2 separate regions of the Homo sapiens genome follow, and region 1 is linked to region 2. Evidence: promoter capture Hi-C in 16 types of primary human blood cells and fetal thymus (Javierre and others, 2016). All regions are on one chromosome and are shown on one strand. The core of a region is centred on a gene start or on the middle of the fragment in contact, and the rest is flanking DNA. Distances in the headings are between cores, read along the strand shown. Region 1 has its middle 4.7 kb from the start of NFIA. Region 2 holds the start of LINC00466 (long intergenic non-protein coding RNA 466).

Region 1 (6,322 bases), core at 3,476-5,975, 2.2 Mb after region 2:
TCCTGTAGGAAAGTGAGGGTAAGTGATGTGTTAACAAGTGAGGGTGAGTGATGTGTTAAGGCCACTCTCATTCAGACTTCTTTTCAAAGCAAGGGGCAGGAAATACTGTACTGGAGAAAGAGCAAAAGAGAACCTCTGAAATAATTCTGCATCTGTCTAAAGTTATTTTATGCTTGTACTTTAGTTACTTTATTGCCAAAATAATTCCCGAATGCTCAAGAACCATTCTCTCTCCCACCCTCCCTCCTGAACATCCTTGGAAATCTCTCAAGATTATTTACTAAGGAGTGAGGAGAAATAATGATTTCAGCCTTTAATGAGAGAGTCCATTTTCCCAAACTTAACCCACTGCTTTTCCTTGGTTCCTCTCAGATTTTAGTAGGGGAGGAATGTCCTAAAAGCCAAGCTGTGTTACAGAGACAACATCCCTGGCCACGAGAACCTTTGCTGGGATCTATAACTTCAATGCGCTCCAAGTTTCCTCGATAGAAGTTTCTGGCTGACGGTCCCAACATGTAACTGAGGCACAGTGAAAAGTTATTGTTCAGAGTGTGTACTCGGGAAGCTCTCTTCCAGAGCAGATTAAAATCTTTCTTTTGGTGTATTAAAAGATACACTTCACATCTGCCTATTTTCAAAACGGCAAAGATTCTTACTTTTGAGTCTCAAGGAAAAAAAAGATTTTTTTTAAAAAGGACTGGCATGTCGCCCTGTTTTTTTTTTTTAATGGGGGAAGTAATTTAATGCTGATATTTCTACTTTAAAAACTTCTTTTGTTGCAGCAGTGGATGTGCCCCGCGATTTCCAGCTTTCTGCGGTTAGCAATATTATCTTAAGTAACTTTTGGCGCCCTTCGTAAGACTTTTGGATATGGGACGATTGTTTGCGCCCTCTAGGCAAGGGCTGGATCCAAGTTCAGCACCAAAGCCCTTCACATCCGCTCCTGCTTTCTCTCCTATCTCCGCCAGCTCCCGCTCCCTCCCCCGCGGAGGGAGGGGGGGAGGCGGGGGAACACTACAAAGCACAGTTCCAACTACAGCCTTTGGAAACAAGACTGAGAAAAATACAGTAGAAGAGTTACAGTTACAGAAAGGCTTCTGGTAACTTTCTCTCCAACAGGCATAAATTTAAACACACGCACAAAGAAACAGATGTTCCTCAAAGGGCAGACTGGGGGTAAAAAACATTTCCAACCCTCTCCCCTCTTCCCAAGTTGCAAAAGTAAATCCTTGTCCAGAGTTCACAAAGATACTAAGGCACTTGAGAGAGAGCAGGGATGGAGGAGGAGGGAAGAAAGAAAGGATAGTAGAGAGAGCAGTGGAGGAAACGCAGGTGAAGTATGGAAACTAGTTCACTGCAATCATATAAATGACCCATTGTTAGGAAGGATAAACCCCTTATTGGAAATAACCTCTCCAATCATTTATTTTCCAAGTGGTAGGAGGCTGCCTTGAAATGGGATTGTCTCTGCGCAAAGGAGGCTCCTGTCATGCTCTCTGCTATCCATATTCTTCCTGGCACAGAGCCCAGCCTTGCATTTACTGTGTTTTATTTGCAGAAACGTTACCTTGCCAGCTTTAGTGAAATCCTCTTAGATATATAAATTACGTCAATAAGGTTTCACTTATATGTACATCTCAAATAGCTCTCATTTTGGAGGTTACTTAATAGGGAGATCTTATTAATATGATTTAGATTTTAATACCCAAAGCAGTGAAGATAGGACTGGGATTCATAAGCGACAACACCATAACTCTGTAGTTCTTACCAAAACTAACTTTATTAACTGGCATTTTTCAACATTTTTTCTTCTCTGGTTTTTGACCTGCTGGTCACTTCTGTGCAGATTTTTCTTATGTGCATATAATCCTAAATTGAATCATGTTGCTGAAGTGAGTGTCCAAGTGAATTCTTACATCAAATTTCCAAGCCAGATTTGACTGGAAGGCCTAAAGCCTTGGGAAATAGCTCGATGGGAATTTAATCCAAAGAAGGGAAAGAGCCCATATTATTTTCCATTCACTTCCCAACAGAATTGGGTGTCTACGCTGCTCAGAGAGGAGGAGATGGAGATATTTTAGTCAGAGGCTGCCAGTTACTGTCTCCAAGACAAGCTACTGCAGTTGGTTTCCACTGGATTTGTATCAAGCACTTGTCCAAGAGGCCAGACTCCAACTAACAGTTAGCAAGTCAGCGATCTTCCATACACTCTCCACGGGGGTTGTTGTGGTAACAAGGAGAAACGTGAACTTGGCCAGTCTTAACGTCCTATTTCCTACTGACCATATACTTAAAAAGCAGAATTCAAGAATAGCCAAGAAAAAACACTCCCCTAATTTCTTTCAAGTGTGTAAGACAGCTGCTAGTCCACATGTGAAACATTCTCTCCTTTAAAACTGTTGTTTAGAGTTCAAGAAGAGAGGTTTACCTATTAATTTCAAAGTACTTGAAATGCCAAAGCTTCTAAGATAATCAGAGTAAGAAGTTTTGTAATGCTGAATACGCAATATATTACTTCCCAAAGCTCACTACAGTCCCACAATTCAGGCAAGATTTAAGCCACACGTTTCTTAAAGTTGAACTTCACATTCCACAAGTTACCAGCTTCCCTGAGCATAAAAATAATAGCTAATGCAAAGTTAATAACAATACAAAGTTATTTCTCTAGCAGAATGTTTCTTTTTCCAAAAGACAAGGAAGAAGGCACACGATTCATGCAAAACTCCCCCGATCAGCTTTTTTTTTTTTCTTAAACGCGAAAATTCTTTCCTATTGTGCTTGCTAAATCCGGAAGCGCTTGTAGCTTTGACAGCTTGAACCACACCATCCCCTTCAGAGCTGCAGAGAACTTCAGATCTCCTCTGCCCCGCCCCCTCTGGCTATTGAGAACTATTGTACACCCAAGCTTCCTTATGATTGGATAAAGCTTTTGTCAATCTCCCAAGTTGTCCCATTGATTAGAGGATCAAATCGTCAATTATTCTCCGGGTCCAGACATTTCTTTTCGGGTTAGGTTGACTGCTGAGGCCAGACGTCTTTTACAGAACAGAGCACGTACAGGATTTCCCCCCACCCCTTTCTGGAACCGAGCAAGCGCTAGGAGGAAAAAAAAATCTGTCAAGCTCAGCAATTTTTTCAAATCCCGAAAAAAAAAAAAAAGAAAAAGAAAACCCGGTCTCTGATGCACATAGCAAAAACACCATCAACAAAGCTACATCTTTAAAACAAAACCATCACAATAGACATTTACCCAGCAATCACTTAAGTGCATATGCGAGCTAGAGAAATTTTAGTCTTAGCCATTAAACAAAATCATTCTACCATTGTTTATAAAACGCATATCATATAAATGCAAAATAGAAAGTTTAAGATGTACCACGTACCATTGCAATGTAAAAAGAGTACGTGAGAAACTTTAAAATGCTCAGACGAATTGCTTCATTTGTTGTCCCCTTTTTTTTGCATTTAAAAAATATCTAAATAAACTTGGAACCGTTGAAAACCCGGAAGAGATTTTTTAAAAAGCTGTTGGCCAATTGCAGGCTTCTTGGAGAATTTTTTTTTTAACTCCAAATCAGAAGGCTTTTGCAATTGCAAGGCGCGCTCTCTCCCTCTCTCACTGTCTCGCTCTCGCTCGCTCGCTCGCTCGCTCTCACTCTCTCTTTTGAAAGCGATCCAACCCGGGCTGGCTGGTTCTCAGATTCGCTCTGGTTTTGCCTTGCGTGCTTTGGATTGTACGAGACTTTGCAGAAGTTGCAATCGATTCGGCAGTCCCTCTCTCCTCTCCCAACTCCCTTGTTTATTTCCGCAATCGCTGCAATTTGCATAGTAACCACGCACGAGGTACCGGCGGCAGCCTGCGGCGGAGGGGGCAGGGAGGGGGCAGGGAAAAGGCCTTGCCCCCTTCTCCCCTCCTCCAGTCTGTCTCCCCGCCAGTCGTCTCCTCCCCTACGGCGCGTGGCCAATAGGAGCCCCTACATTCGGCGCAAGCTCCGGTCTGGACACCGTTCTGAAGAAAAGCCCCTGTGTTACTAGGCCCGGCTCTCGGAATCGTTCTGTTGGCGCAGTACAAGTTCCCCTGCTTGCGCACCTCGCAGCCGGTACTGGGCAACGTGAGGATAAAGTACCTTTGCCTGCGGTTGTGCGGGTTTTGCACCTTTTAATCAAGTCTGCACACCTGCTCTCTCGGTTTCTTTTTCCAGGGCCTCTCGTGAGTTATTAGGCTAGTTCATGATGGTTAGTGAGAGATTTAACCTTTATTTGCACTAGTGTAGACCAAGAGTTAAAGATCCTCTTTGGTGCATTAAATCAAGAGAGTGCAAAATGTCACAGGGAACTTGCAGTGAAATAAAGCGTCTACCCTAGGTTAGGAAAGAAAAAGACAGTGGCTCTATTCTCTGCAGATGACTGAACATAAAATTGTTAGGTGGGCTCCCTCAAGAATAAAGCTGTTCTTTTAAGGCAGGAGATACGGTGAAATTCTAATTTAATTGCCAAGCATCTAATTTGTCAATATCCTTACAAAACCTGGGTTCCACAAAATTAAAGGAGACCCCTCCCCTTCCTACTCCCCTAAGAGAAGAGCTGTAAGAGTTTTGACATTTAAAAGGGGGGTTTTAAAAGATAATTATTGGAACATTAAGTCCTTCATCTCACTGACTCACCTTATTTCATTAACCCAGACTCTTTAAGACCATGTAGTCTGGATATTTCAATGTCAACAGTTTAAGTGTTTGTTTTAAACAACAAAATAGCCATTGGTGCAGAGCAAGGAAATAAGACTCTGAAGGGAGGGAGTTATCTCTTTAAATGGAAAGCACACAACCAGGCTACTGCGGTTTTCGTTGTTGTTTTTAAAAATGTGATTGCTGGCTGGGCACGGTCGCTCACGCCTGTAATCCCAACACTTTGGGAGGCCGAGGTGGGCGGATCACAAGGTCAGGAGATCGAGACCATCCTGCCCAACATGGTGAAACCCCGTCTCTACCAAAATTACAAAAATTAGCCGGGTGTGGTGGCGCGTGCCTGTAATCCCAGTTACTTGGGAGGCTGAGGCACGAGAATCGCTTGAACCCAGCAGGCGGAGGTTGCAGTGAGCCAAGATCACACCACTGCACTCCAGCCTGGTGACAGAGCGAGACTCTGTCTCAAAAAAAAAAAATTGTGTTTGCTTTGAGTCAGTTAAGGAGCATAGGACATTTTGCTGAATAACTTAGAGGAAAACGTGTGCTTACCTGGCTTGATTAAAAGTATCCAGTAAGAAGTCAAGAGTAATAGGAAGCAACCTGGCAGTTGTCTGATTTTCTTAACTGTCCTTGGTGAAGGTACCTAATTAATTAATAACAGGACCTTGCATAGTTAAATTGGAGGTTAGAGAAACCTCATATTTTATGTTGAATCACATTTTTTGCTTCGGTCTTGCTCTCTACAACTAGTCGACTGATGTAGCCGTACTGTGGCTGGCCTTGGCATTAGCTTTGCTGTTCTGGTCTGCCCCTCATAGATGCAGATATGCTCTTGGCTGTAGCAAGCCTGTGGCATTTAATCCTAGCCTCCTCCACTGAGCATCCATTTCCACTTGGTGTACTACTCTCACCTAGAAATACACTTGATGTGATGTAGCGGCTTCAGTTTAAATAAAAAATAATACTTTGGGAGGCCGAGGCAGGTGGATCACCAGGTCAGGATCTCGAGACCAGCCTGGCCAACATGGTGAAACCCCGTCTCTACTAAAAATACAATAATAATAATAATAACAATTTTTTTAAGTAACCAAAAAAAAAAGTTTTGGGCCTGGTTTAGCTGGTACTAGACTGTGTGACCTTGAGATGGTTACATAACACCTGTAAAACAAGACATCAACCTATTGTGAGAGTGGAAGGTTTTGTCAAAAGGTAAGAACCGTTGAGATGCAGAAGAGGTGTCAACCTGTACTGCATTGCTCTGTAGATACTATGGTCTGAATAATCTCTGATGCTAAGCAGGCCAGGCCTTGTAAGTAGGTGGTAACAGTGAATTTTGTGTGCATTGTCTGTAGTGCATTAACTCAGTTTGATATGGTAGGTTGGCACCATTTCCAAAGTGACCTTTTATATCTCCATCTAGTCAACAACAACATAGCATTGACAACATAGCATTGGCTTCAGAGTCCAACTTAGGTTTTTTTTTTTGGACAGAGTTTTTGCTCTTGTTGCCCAGGCTGGAGTGCAGTGCTGCGATCTCGGCTCACTGCAACCTCTGCCTCCTGGGTTCAAGTGATTCTCCTGCCTCAGCCTCCTCAGTAGTTGGGACTACAGGCACCCGCCACCATGCCTGGCTAATT
Region 2 (6,479 bases), core at 1,028-3,527:
GCTGTAGGACAGAGACGGAAGAAGCGAGACAGATACAGAGAGAAAGTGAGACACATGTAGTGGGGGGAAGAAAATGTGATAAAGGGTGTATGTGGATAAAAAGTTTCTGAGTCTCAAAGGGTTATTGGAGAGATAGAGGGAGAATGAGTAGACACACACACGCAATTATGAGTTTGAGTGACTCTTTGAGTCTCAACAAGCGAACTTCCCAGGAGAGATTTAAAAAGGAAGATGGCAGCCAGCTGCCTCACCTGCTCAAATGTTTGAAATGTTTCAACCAAAGGAGAATGGAATGAAACCCCTTCGGTTCCTCTGGAGCGGGCAGAGTACATGGTACCCCGCTGGGAAAGCCACCTGGACGCGGTGGGAATGAGGGGTGCGGGGAGTGGGGATCTAGGTTCTAGCAACAGGAGGCAAGAAGAATGGAGTCCGGATCGATAGGAAGGAAATTGAGACGTCTCCAGGGGAGGGGAGATTTAGTGTGTGCGTCCAGTGGGGGGATGGGGGGGAAGAAATGGATAGAAAAATTTATGATGGAGAAAGGGAAATTAATTACAGCTCATTTTGGGTTCTTAGGTGGTCAACACTGGAGGAGGGGCACGGTTAGAGTGCGGAAGGCGGGAATTGCCCACCTACCCCTCACCAGGCCCAAGTGAACCCATATGCCTCTTTTCTCCTCTTTTAAGTCAGAGACAGTGCCAGTGGCTTGAATAAGTCGTTGGCGCGATGTGAGATAGAATCATCATGCCCGCGCGCGGGTGCACTTTTCTTACAATACGGGGAGTTGGGACCAGGTTCCGCGGAGTGAAGGGCGCGTCCCCCACCAAGAGTAGTTACTCTTTGTCCAAGAGGGAGCAAAACGTGGGTGGGACTATTAGAAAAATTCCCCTCCTTTCTCCCCAACACCCCCGCGCCCGCAACAATCAAAGTCTGCTGCTTCTTGAAAATCTTCATAGATTTGTTAAACTATTACCGGCCTCTTTGTCTGGATGGCCGCCACCAAGGAAGGTGGGAAAGGGCAGAGGTGGTACCCAAGGCCCCAACCCACCCAGATTACTTCCATTTCCCAAAGCGGGGGATTTTCAACTCTCTTACCCACCACTACCCCCTTGTATACCTCTCCGGATCTTTTCGGGGTGGAAAAAAAGAGGCTATTTTAATGTTCTTGTTTGGATTTGCATCTCAAAACTTCATTTATTTTCAAGATGTCTGCCACTCAGGGTCCACGCCAAGGCGTGCCTGTAAATGGCGAGAGACCAAAAGGAAAGGAGGAGAGAAAGAGGAAGAGAGAGAGGATGGTTTCGAATTTATTTATATTGGAAATATATAAACATCCATTCTGTAAAAGGCAACACGTTTAATTAACGATGAGAGAGCAGTTAGGGGCAGAAAGCTAGTAAAATTGTGTGATAAATTTATGGCATTGTTAGCGTGCTTTTAATTATGGCTATTATGTTAATTATTTCACATTAGCATGGAGTTATCAGCAGCATGTCGGATTTAATAAAAACGAGCCTTTCTCTCGAAAATTGTTCTTTTCATCCACGAGGAGAAAGGTCCTGGACAGGATCGGGGCTTAAAAATGACTTGGCATTGAAAGCCGGAGTCTTTCTGACACCGTTTGGAGCGATGCGGCCAGGCCCGGCTGTCCGCTGGGTCCCTCCAGGCTACCGGCAGCTCGAGGAGGAGCCCAGGGCTGGGTTTTTAGGAATTCACCATTTTCACCCCCTTCGGAGCCGACACTTCATCATGCGAGATCATTCTGTCAAACAATATGATGCTGCTCATTTTTATCTGTCCCGCTTTACAAAATCCCCATTCAGCCGGCCGAGGAGCAACAAAAGCCTCTGAGCAGCTCCGCAGCCACTGGCGGCCACAGCCTCCCCGGCGCGCGAGAAAGGCGAGAGGGGCCGAGGAAAGCAGGCGGCGGGCGCGCGCCCCTCTCCGCCGGAGGGAACGCTGCCTGCCGGGGCCTGCCAGCCCAGGTGTCGGGTCCTCGGGTGTGGCCCGGGCGGGACACGCCTCCCTCAGGCCCGCGCCCGCCCTCGGCCTCCCTGCAGGCGCCGGGCGAAAGCCCCCAATCCCTCCCCTCAAGCGACTCGCCCACCCAGGCCACATCGATTCTTTAATCACCGCCGATCGATTTATTGGGAGCAAATAAATAGACCGTTTTGGAAACGTTTCAATTGCTGGCTTGACGGTTGGGGCGCTGACGCGGGAGGGCGGGCAGGGCCGTGGGGCGCGCGCGGGAAGGGACTTGTGGGAAGGAAGGGAGCGGAAAGGCCGAGCGCCACCCGCCCCGGGAGTCTCCAGAGCAGCGCGCGGGGCAGACCTCCTCGGGTCCTCCGGCGCTTCGGTCTCCGGAGACGCCCGGCCTCCTGAAGGGTTCGGCTTGTCCTCCTCTGGCGCTCAGCTCCCTCTGGCGGCCGGGCTGGCAGGACCTCAGCGCCCAGCCCTTCCGTCTTGTTACGTCCAGGCAAGTTGGCCTGGCTTTCGGATGCCTCTGGACAGTCCCCGTCCAGGCCCGCGACCCAGCCCGAATGGAGGCCCCGGGGCCCACAGAGCGCGGCCTCCCAGGCCTTCCAGCCCTGGCTGCGGACGCCGCAGCCTTCTCGCCCCTGGGCCGGACGCGGCCTTCCTGCCCAAGACCACTGGGGCCCCCGCCCCTCCCGGGACAGGGCTGTGGACAGGCCAGCTGCTGCCTTATTTTTAGCGCCATTCCATTCGCGCGGTTATATTTAACTCGACCCACTCCTCCGAGGAGGTCGCTCGGACATCGAATTCTCCACATCGCAGCTTGGGCCTGCCCGCCTTGCCTCAGGGGTAGTTCCTCAAGGGACAGATTGGAAAACCCCTGCTTAAGAATCCTTGACATATCTGGAGCTTGGAGAGGACGGGACTGGGGGAGAGATCTGGTTCTAGGGGCAGTGGCCACCGCGCCTGCAGTGCACTGCGTGGGGATTCCGCCTTGTGTGGGGCGGGGGAGGGGAGGAAGGGACAGGATCAGTCCTGTGGGAAGGATTCTCTGCGGGGAGTATTGTGTCCATTTCCTACTTCTGCATGACTCAGAACACTAGGTGACCTGGAAGACCTCTCACGACCCTGCCCTTGGAAAAGTTTATCATTTAGCGTGAGTGCAGGAATCCCCTCTTCTCTACCCTCCAGTGCACCCAACGGGATATTTGATTTCAATGGTATGTTAGCTCCTTAGTTCCAGCCCAGTCTTCCCTTGGCAAAATCTTAAAAAGACCATGCCAAAGGCTCACTCACATCCTGGGGAAAGGACCCACTTGGATAACATACGGAAACACCATTGTGATACACGCTTTATTCACACAGAATGTCAGTTAGCAAACAATGCAGAAGTCATGTACTAAAGGTACACTAACAGATGTGACATGGATCGCGGATATCGAAACACATTTTTTTGTTTTTCTTTGAGACAGGGTCTCACTCTGTGTCTCAGGCTGGAGTACAGTGGTGCAATTGTAGATGGCTGCAGCCCTCGACCTCCTGGGCTCAAGTGATCCTCCTGCCTTAGCCTCTCGAGTAGCTGGGAGTACAGATGCACACCACCACACCCAGGTAATTTTTTATTTTTATTTTTTGTAGAGATGGGATCTCGCTCTGTTGCCCAGGCTAGTCTCAAGCTCTTGGCCTCAAACGATCCTCCCACCTCAGCCTCTCAAAGTGCTGGGATTAAAGGTGTGAACCATCCTGCCAGGCCAAAACACATTTTAAAAATTTAAATTCTTCTAACATTTTTAAAGAAACAAGTTTTCCTTGGGTCAAAGCTGCCTTTTTTGGTAACTCTCATTTTAATCCAAAATTTCTTGGATTTAAGTCATACCCACAGCTGAATTCAGGGGGAGAGGATATATAAGTATACAATATATATTTATTTACTCATTTATTCCTTATTAGTAATTTATTGAACTGTTGTAGACCTGGAAAGTACCAGGAATGAAAAGAAGAATTAAACCCAAGGTTCCTTAAGGAAGAACCAGGCAAGAGAATCAGTGTTTGTCATGCAGGTTGATAGGTGCCATGGCAAGGGGAAACAGCGCAGAGGAGGGCCTTTCTCACTGGGTAGGGATAGAGAAAGTGTGAAGCCTTCAATACGGAAGATGCTACTGACCAGCTACCTCTGACTTTAGGGGTTTTCAGGGGAGATTGGGGAGAAGTAAGTTAGAACCCGGGATACTTTGGGAAAAGAAAGTGCTAAGTTGGATGCCTAATGGTACTTCTGGACAGCCAGAAAGTACTTGGTCTCAAGGGAAATGGACAATAGATGTATGATAAGGAAACAGAAAGGGATGGAAGAAGAGAGAAGGGAAATGTAAAAATTGAAATTTGCTTAGACATTTTGTCTAGGTATAGTACATTTAGACTACATGGAAGTATTTGACTAACAAACACATGGAAGAAATTTAAAAGGGAACGTAGATAAAGGAAAAGATCCTTTGAAAAGAAAATATTCAAAAGGCTAGTTGTTAGACCCAGCTGTTTTTCTAACCTTATCGTATTCATCAAGGGCCAGACACTGGAACCACAAAGGTGAGTAAGAAGATAGATTCCACCTTTAGAATGTTAATTCCAGAAGGGCAGGAATTTTTATCTGTTCACTGTTGTATCCCTAGCCTCCAGCCAAGTACTAGTGGTGTAGGGGTGGAGGTGTGGCTCAATAAATATTGCTTGAATAACCCGATCAGTAAGACACATTCTCACTCTAATGGGGGACTTATTCAGGGAAGTCCATAGCTAAAATGTAGTGTGATGAGTTATAAATATATGATAGAATGTTACAGGAGCGCAAAAGAAACATAACTAACTCTGCCTGGGAAAGAGAATAGGTGGGTAGGAAGGTTTCCCTAAGAAATAATACTTGAACTGTCCGGCGCGGTGGCTCACGCTTGTAATCCCAGCACTTTAGGAGGCCGAGGCGGGCGGGTCACGAGGTCAGGAGATCGAGACCACAGTGAAACCCCGTCTCTACTGAAAATACAAAAAATTAGCCGGGCGTGGTGGCCGGCGCCTGTAGTCCCAGCTATTCGGGAGGCTGAGGCAGGAGAATGGCGTGAACCCGGGGGGCGGAGCTTGCAGTGAGCAGAGATTGCCCCAATGCACTCCAGCCTGGGCTACAGAGCGAGACTCCGTCTCAAAAAAAAAAAAGGAAATAATATTTGAGCTGTTGTGAATGATAAGCAGCAGTTAGGTAAAGAAAAAGAGGAACAGAGTTCTGGGAAAAGAAAGAGAACACAGCACGAGTAAAGACACAGATTTATGCAAGACACGAGGAGCAGCATATAGTTTGGTTTAACTGAAATGAGATAAGGGAATGGCCAGAGTAAAATAATAAAGACTCTTGAATACTGGGCTGAAGAGCCCAAAGTTATTAAGAAGCCAGTAAAGTCTTTAACTGATTGGCATGATTGAAATAAAATTTTGGAACTATTCTTTGCGGGAATGTGAAGGATAAACTGAGGGAGTAAAAGACTGGAGATAGCAAGGAGGCTATTTCGTTATCTTAGTAAGAGATGAAGAAGGTATGATTTAAATTATTGGCAGTGAGACTGGAGAAGAGGAGATGATGATGACTTTGAGAGGACTGAAGAAGTAAAATGGATGGAACTAAGTGTCTGATTGCTAAGGGAGAAAGATTTCACAGTAACTCCCAGATATGAAATTTGCATGTCTAGAAGAAATGGTGTTATCATCAATTGAGGAGACTACAGATGGAGAAACACTCTCTAGTCCCTTGTTCCTCAGTCATAGACATGACTACTCAAATTATTTCCTTAAATGTCAGTTGGAGCACGCCAGTCACTCCTCTGATCAAAAACATTTAATGCACATTGAGCATGATGGCTCATGCCTGTAATTCCAGCACTTTGGGAGGCTGAGGCAGGAGGATCGCTTGAGCCAGCAGTTTGAGACCAATCTGGAAAACATAACAAGACCCTGTCTCTACAAAAAAGTAAAAAGTTAGCTGGGCATGGTGGTGCATGCTCATGGTCCCAGCTACTTGGGAGGCTGAGGCAAGAGGCTTGATTGAGCCCAGGAGGTTGAGGCTGTAGTGATCTATGATCCTGCCACTGCACTTTAGCCTGAGAGATAGAGACCTTGTCTCATACAAAACAAAACAAAAGCAAAACTGTTTAATGCTACCTCATTGCTTGTAGAAGAAAACCCAAACCCTTTAGTAAGATACTTCAGGTGTGCCATAATCTGGCTCCAATATACCTTCTAGTTTCCTTTGCACTCCATGCCCCTGACCTATGGGACTATAATGCATTTCCAGGACACACTGTGGCCTCCGTCCTTTACCAGTTATATGACCTTGGGTAAGTTCCTTAAACTCTCTGTGCCTCATATCCTTACTTGTAAAATGGAGATAATGGCATCTTCCTTATGGGGTTTTTGTAAGGATTAAGGACATCCAAATCACTTAGAATAGAGTTGGCACATAGTTAAGGATC

What was found. Contacts are between HindIII fragments. The CHiCAGO score rates a contact against its expected background, and 5 or more counts as called.
Region 1: a fragment that was not itself captured here is called in contact with the fragment with the promoter of LINC00466 in region 2 in 1 of 17 cell types (total B cells); the score reaches 5.3 in total B cells.

What each region holds. Positions count from the first base shown.
Region 1 is chr1:61,074,690-61,081,011 of GRCh38, reverse strand. It overlaps a transcript of NFIA not described here. Among named protein-coding and RNA genes, the nearest start is that of NFIA, 4.7 kb to the left of the region's middle. The HindIII fragment of the contact is 3,593 bases long and covers 2,929-6,322 here.
Region 2 is chr1:63,313,055-63,319,533 of GRCh38, reverse strand. It overlaps LINC00466 (long intergenic non-protein coding RNA 466), which reads left to right and starts at 2,277. Exons shown (of 12, transcript NR_038252.3): 1 at 2,277-2,476; 2 at 3,447-3,585. RefSeq lists a silencer at 1,952-2,131. The HindIII fragment of the contact is 23,330 bases long and covers 1-6,479 here.